2 separate regions of the Homo sapiens genome follow, and region 2 is linked to region 1. The links are contacts of gene promoters, found by promoter capture Hi-C in blood cells and fetal thymus (Javierre and others, 2016). All regions are on one chromosome and are shown on one strand. The core of a region is centred on a gene start or on the middle of the fragment in contact, and the rest is flanking DNA. Distances in the headings are between cores, read along the strand shown.

Evidence for each region. Contacts are between HindIII fragments. The CHiCAGO score rates a contact against its expected background, and 5 or more counts as called.
Region 2: a fragment that was not itself captured here is called in contact with the fragment with the promoter of DNMT3A in region 1 in 1 of 17 cell types (M1 macrophages); the score reaches 5.2 in M1 macrophages.

What each region holds. Positions count from the first base shown.
Region 1 is chr2:25,339,893-25,344,147 of GRCh38, forward strand. It overlaps DNMT3A (DNA methyltransferase 3 alpha), which reads right to left and starts at 2,033. Exons shown (of 23, transcript NM_022552.5): 1 at 1,934-2,033. RefSeq lists silencers at 756-875, 1,156-1,395, 1,496-1,665, 1,956-2,165, 2,226-2,705 and an enhancer at 2,826-2,945. The HindIII fragment of the contact is 8,821 bases long and covers 796-4,255 here.
Region 2 is chr2:25,636,434-25,640,688 of GRCh38, forward strand. It overlaps DTNB (dystrobrevin beta), which reads right to left. Exons shown (of 21, transcript NM_021907.5): 3 at 2,581-2,661. Among named protein-coding and RNA genes, the nearest start is that of DTNB, 35 kb to the right of the region's middle. The HindIII fragment of the contact is 244 bases long and covers 2,204-2,447 here.

The DNA.
Region 1 (4,255 bases), core at 783-3,282:
CACTGGAGCAGCACCTGATCCCAGGATCCCTTCGTAGCCGCCCGCCCAGGAGGCGGGTTCAGCCGCTGGCAGCCTAGGGTGAAACATGAAGACTGAGCAGGCCCTCAGGGATGCTGATGGCAGTCTCTGGGCACGGCAGTGAGGGGCAAGTTGGGTCACAGGGCGGACAGCGCTTCTCCCCAAGGCTTCTGTCCCCGCTGGTTTGGAGGGGGGGTAGCTGCGCGGCCCTGGGGCTCGGCCCTGCCCACCCTCCCGCCTGCCGCAGGCCAGAGCTGCCCTGCTGGGTGCCAGACGCCATGTTGGGTCAAGGTGCAGCCGCAGGGGGCTCCCCTCAGGAGCCGGGGGAGGCAGCCCCTGGGAACCAGAGGGCACTGCTCCCCGCCCAGGGCGCCAACACCTCCTCAACTGGCCGTGCAGCGGAGAGAGGGTGCCAGGACGGAGGGGATGAGGAGAGGGGGAGAAATGGCAGAGGGGCGCTGGGGTGGGAGAGGGTGCCCCCAAGAAGGGAGGCTTCAGGAAAGCGAAAAGCAGTTTGGCAGCCCCAGGGCCGCGGGCCCCAGCGATGAGGGGCTGGGGGAGGCCAGGGGCGGGCCCTGGACCCGCGCCAGCCCGGTCCGCGCCGAAGGGGAGGGAAGGCAGGGCGGCCTGGGGGAGGGGAACTGGGGTGAGGGCGGGACACGGACAGCCGCCGCCTGCGGCTCCGAAGCTCGAGGTCTCCCGGGGTGCGGGGACGTGGGGCCGAAGACCCCGCTCCGCAGCCGCGGCGAGGCCTCGTCCTTCACTGTGCAGATGCGAAGCTTTCAAGGACACGTCTGCACCGGCCCGGCGGGGTGCGTGTGCGTGAGTGTGTCCGCGTGCGTGGGAGTGTGCGCGGGGGTGCTGGAGGGGCGACCCCGGGCGTACCCCCCCTGCGCCGCTCCCGGTCCCGGCCCCGCTACTTCCACCCCCGCGTTTTCCGGCCCCCGCGGCCCGGGCCCGGGCCCGGGATCCTCGCCCGCCCCCGCCCCGCCCCCACATTGCGGCGCCGCCACCGCGGCCGCCCGGGCACCCACGGCCCGCGGTGGGGACAGGGAGGAGCCGGGCACGACCACCCCTCTCCGTGCCGCCGGCACTCCGGGGGAAGGTGTGCCCCCAAGGCGGGCGCTCTCCCCGGCCCCGCCGCCCCTCCCGGCCCCGCCGGCGCCCCGCACCCCCAGCCACAGGTGGCCGGAGGAGGATCGCGGCGCGGCGCTCCCCGGCCCGGCCCCGCCATCACCCCTCGGCCCGCCCCCGGGGGCCTCCCGGGTCCCCCGCCCCGCGGGGCCGAGGAGGGCCGGGCGCCGGGGGGAGGGGCGGGGGGCCGGGTCGTGCCAGGCTGCCATTTTCTGCCGCCGCCGCGGAGCCTGCGCGGGGCCCGGCCCCCGCCCCCTCCCCCGCTCCCCCGGGCCGCCGCGGGGGCCGATCCTTCTGGGTCGGGGTCCGCGCCCTCCGGCGCCCTGGCCGCGGGCTCCAGGCGGGGCCGCGGGGCTGGGGCAGAGCCCGGAAGGCGGGGGCGGCCCGGCCGGGGCCCCTGCGGCAGCGGCGAGCCGGGCACCGCGGCGCAGGCCGGCGGTGGAGGGGCCCCCCGCGGCATTGTATAGACTTGAACTTGAGCCCGGAGCCGGGCGGGGGCGGGGAGGGGGGTCCGCGCCGGGAGCGGGCGGGACGGGAGGGGGCGCCTGCCGAGCCCGCGGGGACATAAACAAACCCTCAAATCCCCCGCGCCGCCCCGGCCAGCCCGGCCCGCCGTCCCCGCCTGCAGTCCCGGCCCCACGGGCGCCCGGCGCCGAGTTGCAGGGGTCCGGGAGCGTGCCCCGAGCCGGGCACTGCCAGCCGCGGCGCCCCCCGCCCGGCTCCCCGGCTCCCCGCCGCCTCCGGGCCGGCCTTCCGGGCCGCCAGCAGCGGCGCTCATTACCGTATGGCCGGTGGGGTCGGGCCGGCCCGGCTGCGCGCCCTGGTGCCGCGGCGCCGCGTCCCGGCTCGTCCTCTGCTCTCGCCGCCGCCGCCGCCCGCGCGCCCTCCCTCCCTCCCGGCCCGCCTGCCTGCCTCGCTCGCTCGCTCCCTCCCTCCGCTCGCTGTCGCGCTCCCTCTCTCCGCCTCCTCCGCCGGGTCCCCCCCTCCCACCCCTTCTCTCCGCCTTCCTCCTTCCCTCCCTCCGGCCGCCCGCGGGCCCAGGCCTCCGCCCGCCGCTCGCCCCCCGCGGCCGCGCTGGCCCCGGCCCCGGCGCTGCGGAGCCGGCCCGGGAGGCAGCGCCGACTGGGGGGCCCCGGGGCGCCGCGGCGGGAGCGGCCTGGGCGCGCGGCCGGTCCTAGCGCCCTCGGCGCGACTTCCCGGCCTCTGCGGCCCCGCCGGGGTCCCCGCACGCCGCTTGGCGGAGGTCTGGACCCCGCACCGCCCAGACCGGGGGCCGGGCCCCGGGCGCCCCGCCTCGGCCGCGCTCCCGGCCACTCAGAGCCCCTCGAGTCGTAGCCGAGCTCCGGGCCTCGCCGCAGCCCTCCCCACGCTGGGCGCCCCGCTACCTGGCGCTGCTTCTGCGCTGGGTCCCCGCATCCAGCACTGGCCGCAGGGACAGCGGCCCCTCCTCTCCCCGGGCCGGTGTCAAGTGCCTCCCCCCGCAGCCCGCGGAGCCCCCGGCGGCCTTCGCCCTGCAGTTCTCCCGACCTCCGCCAGAGCCCACTGCGCTCTGCCTGCCTCAGCACTGGGGCTGGGGACAGCAGCGCTGGCCCAACCGCGCCGCAACCCCCAGCCAGGTGCCGCCGCGGAGTAGAGGCCACTCTGCTCTACAGGGCCAAGGTCGGAGCGCCAGGCTCCTCCTGGCCGTCCCGCAGGCTCCAAAGCCTCTCTGAGATGAGCTGCCTTGAAGGGAGTGAGTTCCCCGTACCTTGAGGTGTCCAAGTAGAGTTGGGTGTCCTCAGTTGGGCACTGGAAGACTGAAAGATTTCATGAGGTGGGAGGTTGAATGAAATGACATTGAAGGTCTCTTCCAGCTGGAAGATTCTGTGTGTGCCTACACACCGCCCTCACCCCTTCACCGTGGGGGCTGTTCTCCTTCCCCATGGAGCGCTCAGGGCTCTAGGTTCCTGACTTGGGGCACCTCTGTCTAATTCCACCAGCACAGCCACTCACTATGTGCTCATCTCACTCCTCCAGCAGCCGCTGTAGGACTTGGGGCTGGGCACCCCCCCACCCCCGCCTCCAGCCTCCTTGCGCGCCCCAGCACCCCACCAGCCACCCGCAGCTCTGCACCCCGAATTCTACTCAGCACTTCAGCTATATCACAGTGCCCTGAGCTCCCTGACTGGCACAGGACATGGCGTGCTCCCTTCCCAGGGACCCGCCATCCTACTTGTGGGCAGGGATTGCTGGAGTTGGTGGTGGGACTCACTTCACAGTGAAGCGGATCCTACTTTTCCCTTCTCCCCATGCAGCCCAGCACCCGCCCCCCCAACGCCACCCTTTTAGCGTCACAGAACCGAGTTGCCAAGTTCTCTGGGACCGGGAGCTGACCTTTCATACAGACGGGAAGGTTTTCCTTCGGGAGGTTCTCCAATGCTTCCAGGTCCCTCCGTCTCCCCAACCCCCACCCTGAGCCTCGATATCTGAGACCAGCTTCTAGGCCATAGTTCTGGCCGTTTTCAGTGTCACCCTCACTCAAGTGGCCACCCCGCCCTACTGATGATAGGCCCTGCTGTCCATGGTCCCCACCGGCCCAGAGACTCCCAGTGCTCTGTGAGGACAGGGGCCGCGTCTGTCATCCCTGTAGCCCAGCACTTGGTGCTAGGAGATTCTCAGTAAACCTTGGTGGAATTAACATGTGACCCTCCTGGGCTGTTCGCTTTCTACATCAGGAGGGGCATCCGTGAACACTCTAAATGGCGCACCCAGCTTGGCAAAGGAGAAGACCGTTTATAGAAGGATGACTGAGATACCTCTGCCTTCATCAAGGGCTTACATATAACACGGCCCCAAACAGCAGCGACTGTTTACTGAGTGTCTACTATGTGCCAGGCACCAGACATGGTATTTTCTCTAGTCTTCACTAGCCCTGTGATATGGCTTGTACTCTCCTCACGCTACAGATGAAGAAACTGAGGCTCAGTCTTAGTCAAAGCCATACAGTTGGGAAGTGGCAGAGTCAGGATTCAAAGCCAGGTTCATCCGGCTCTGAAATCACCCCACATCACATCTTTTTTTTTTTTCTTTTATTGAGACACAGTCTCGCTCTGTTGCCCAGACT
Region 2 (4,255 bases), core at 1,076-3,575, 300 kb after region 1:
CCTAGTCAGGCTCTCAACACTCCACACGTAGACTACTGTTTCCCAAGAATAATTATGGCAGGAATTATAAAAACGAGAGTTGTTCTAAGGCAGTGGTTTTCGAACTTTTTGACCACGAGCACAGAAATATATTTAAATCATCACATACACACATATACACACAAACACATACATATATCTAGATATATAAATATATTTAAATCATCACAGAAATATATTTAAATCATCATGTACACACACAAACACATAGATACATCCAGATATCAGAACACATTTAGCCTTACCACATAAGTTGCATTCTAATATTTTATTTTTCTTCCTTTTTTTTCCTATTATATGTTTTTAATTCTGGCTACAGCCCATCAAAATGATTTCATGAAGCATTAATGGGTAACAACTCACAATGTAAAAAATAATGCTTTGAGAAACCACTGGAGAAAGAAACATCACTTCGATCTAGGATGGCATGATAAACTCTTCGGAGAGAATTTTAAGTTAAGATTTGTGAGTAAGACTTAAAGTAGAGTAGAATTTATCAGCTGTAACGTGATTTGCCCAAGATTATTTGTTTATAATAAATGGCAAAACCAGGTCTAACAGAGCCCTCAGAAATAATAGCACACATCTACAACCATCTGATCTTTGACAAACCTGACGAAAACAAGAAATGGGGAAAGGATTCCCTATTTAATAAATGGTACTGGGAAAACTGGTTAGCCATATGTCAAAAGCTGAAACTGGATCCCTTCCTTACACCTTATACAAAAATTAATTCAAGATGGATTAAAGACTTAAATGTTAGACCTAAAACCATAAAAACCCTAGAAGAAAACCTAGGCAATACCATTCAGGACACAGGCATGGGCAAGAACTTCATGTCTAAAACACCAAAAGCAATGGCAACAAAATCCAAAATTGACAAATGGGATCTAATTAAACTAAAGAGCTTCTGCACAGCAAAAGAAGCTACCATCAGAGTGAACAGGCAATCTACGGAATGGGAGAAAATTTTTGCCACCTACCCATCTGACAAAGGGCTAATATCCAGAATCTACAAAGAACTTAAACAAATTTACAAGAAAAAATCAAACAACCCCATCAAAAAGTGGGCGAAGGATATGAACAGACACTTCTCAAAAGAAAACATTTATGCAGCCAACAGACACATGAAAAAATGCTCATCATCACTGGCCATGAGAGAAATGCAAATCAAAACCACAATGAGATACCATCTCATGCCAGTTAGAATGGCAATCATTAAAAAGTCAGGAAACAACAGGTGCTGGAGAGGATGTGGAGAAATAGGAACACTTTTACGCTGCTGGTGGGACTGTAAACTAGTTCAACCATTGTGGAAGACAGTGTGGCGATTCCTCAAGGATCTAGAACTAGAAATACCATTTGACCCAGCAATCCCATTACTGGGTATATACCCAAAGGATTATAAATCAGGCTGCTATAAAGACACATGCACACGTATGTTTATTGCAGCACTATTCACAACAGCAAAGACTTGGAACCAACTCAAATGCCCATCAATGATAGACTGGATTAAGAAAATGTGGCACATATACACCATGGAATACTATGCAGCCATAAAAAAGGATGAGTTCATGTCCTTTGTAGGGACATGGATGAAGCTGGAAGTCATCATTCTCAGCAAACTATCGCAAGGACAGAAAAGTGAACACCACATGTTCTCACTCACTGGTGGGAATTGAACAATGAGAACACTTGGACACAGGAAGGGGAATATCACACACCGGGGCCTGTCATGGGATGGCAGGAGGGGGAGGGATAGCATTAGGAGATATACCTAATGTAAATGACGAGTTAATGGGTGCAGCACACCAACATGGCACATGTATACATATGTAACAAACCTGCACGTTGTGCACATGTACCCTAGAACTTAAAGTATAATAAAAAATAAATAAATAAAAACTAAAACCAAGGTTTTTCAATTCTAAGGTTAATGCTCTTTCCATTGTATAAAATACTTTTTCCACTGATACACACAAACACGAGAAAAGTACAATAATTCTGTCACGAGCTAGTTCATCTTCATGGAAATAAAGAGAAGAAAGATTAAGTATATACACACACAGACATACATATACATATATACAGACACACACACACTTTATTTTATGATCCACATGGTAGCAATTATTTATAGAAAAGGTTGATTCATGTTACATTAAGCTTAATGAAGAAAATCAATTCCAATTATACCTTTATCAAAAACATTGTTTTTCTTTTCCTCCAGCAGCTGATAAATTGTATTAATTTTACATAAAGCATTTCCTTAATAAAAGTGACAGAGAAATCCATTCTCCCATTTAAAGAACATTAATACTACAACAGCCTCAAAACTAGTTACATGACTGAGTTTGTTAAACATTTTGAAGGACAAAGAAGTAAAATGACAAGTTCTTCCATTACAAAGCTTACATACTAATAAATACTTAAGACAAAAATAATTCAATTAACATTACAATACAACTAAAAGATGTTAAAGTCTTTTCTAATATTGAGAACTCTATCCAGCTATCACAGAAATGAGTAGAAATGACTCACGGTTGCATCGTTTTTGTACAAATCGTAATTTGCAGGCTGTTCTGTAAGTTGATAGTCGTATGACATCAAAATTCTGAGCACCTGAAAAAAGGCAAACAGAAATGCTCAACTAGATTTACCATTTAGTTTCCAAACGCTAGGAAATGACTCCATTCTATTGTATTGTCATAGTATACCAGTCAGCTAGGACTTCTTAAAAACGGTGGGTCAATTAAAACAACAACAGAGGGAGAAAAGGATAGGAAACACGTGCATCTCCAGTATGTGCAGGAACTCTGCTAGTCTAGCTCCTGATATCCTGTCTGCTCATCGGAGAAAACTCCAGGGGGAGGAACACTTATGAGGTGAGTGAGTGAACTATGATTAGGAAAGGGGAGTAGGGCAGCATCGTGAGAAAGACCCAAGCCTAGAGTCAGAAAAGCTGCATTCCTGTCCCAGCCTGACCAACCACAGAATACGACTGTGGCCATGCCCCGTGGCTGTGGCCATGCGGCGTGCCTCTGCACATAAGTGTCCTCATTTGGGAAATGAGGGAACGGACCGGTTGCCTGAAAGGTCCCCTTCCAGTCTGTGGCAGCCTGTATTTTCCAAAAAAAAAAAAAAGCCACAACAATATTTTCAGAACAGTATTTTATGTACTTCTAGTATGTTGTCCCTCTCCATCAAGGTCTAGAGATTCTTTCCTTCCATGTGAATCTGACCAGGACACTGTGACGGCCTCGCGGCACAGAATGCGGCAGAAGTACAGTGCGGGACTTCTGGAGATAGATGATAACAGACGGCATAGCTTGCTCTGCTCTTGCTCTTCCGGGATGCTTGTGCTGGGAGCCCAGATGCCATACCGTGAGAAAGCCCAGACTGATGTGGAGAGGCCACAGTGAGAAGATCGTACGAAGAAGAACTGAGTCCACCAACCAAACCAGCATCGACTGCCAAACGCGCAGGCGAGCGAGCCTTCAAATGATTCAAGCCCTAAGCCTTTGAGTCTTCTGCTGAGACCTCAGGCATCATGAAGCAAAGTCAAGATGTCAGCACTGAACGCTGTTCTGAGTCTAGACCCACAAAACGCATAAATAGAATGACTGTTTGAGGGGTAAGCGATATATGGCCAGAGTAACTAGAACAAAGCCTAAAATTATACATGAGTCTATAAATCACATTTTGTTCTCATTTTAATTGCTGCAAATGAAGTCTCCTTGAATTTTAAGACCACTGTAGATAGGATTGGCCCCCAATGTGAGATTTCACCTATCCTTCCTTTATAAAATTTGGCAGCAAGTTTTGACTCAATAAGGGGACAGAGAACTGGCACAAATTATCTTGTATCAGTATTTATAGGCATCTCTCATTTGTCTTCATTACACGGTATGGAGGCGGGGGGTGGAGGGGGTTAAAGGAAGGATTTTTCCAGGTTTTTGGTTTTTGTATACTGAACAAAAAGTGAAGGTTTATCTTAGTCTGACTTCAATCAACCTTCCTCCTGATGTCATGATTAAAATTATTTCCTCAGGGGATACCTGGTTCTCACAAAATATTTATCCCTCTCTCTCTCTGTATTATACAGTCCCACTTTCTCTTTTTAAATATAAAAGCTTTATTAAAATATAATTCAAAGTCCAGATGCAGTAGCTCACACCTGTAATCTCAGTACTTTGGGGGGCTGAGGTAGGAGGAT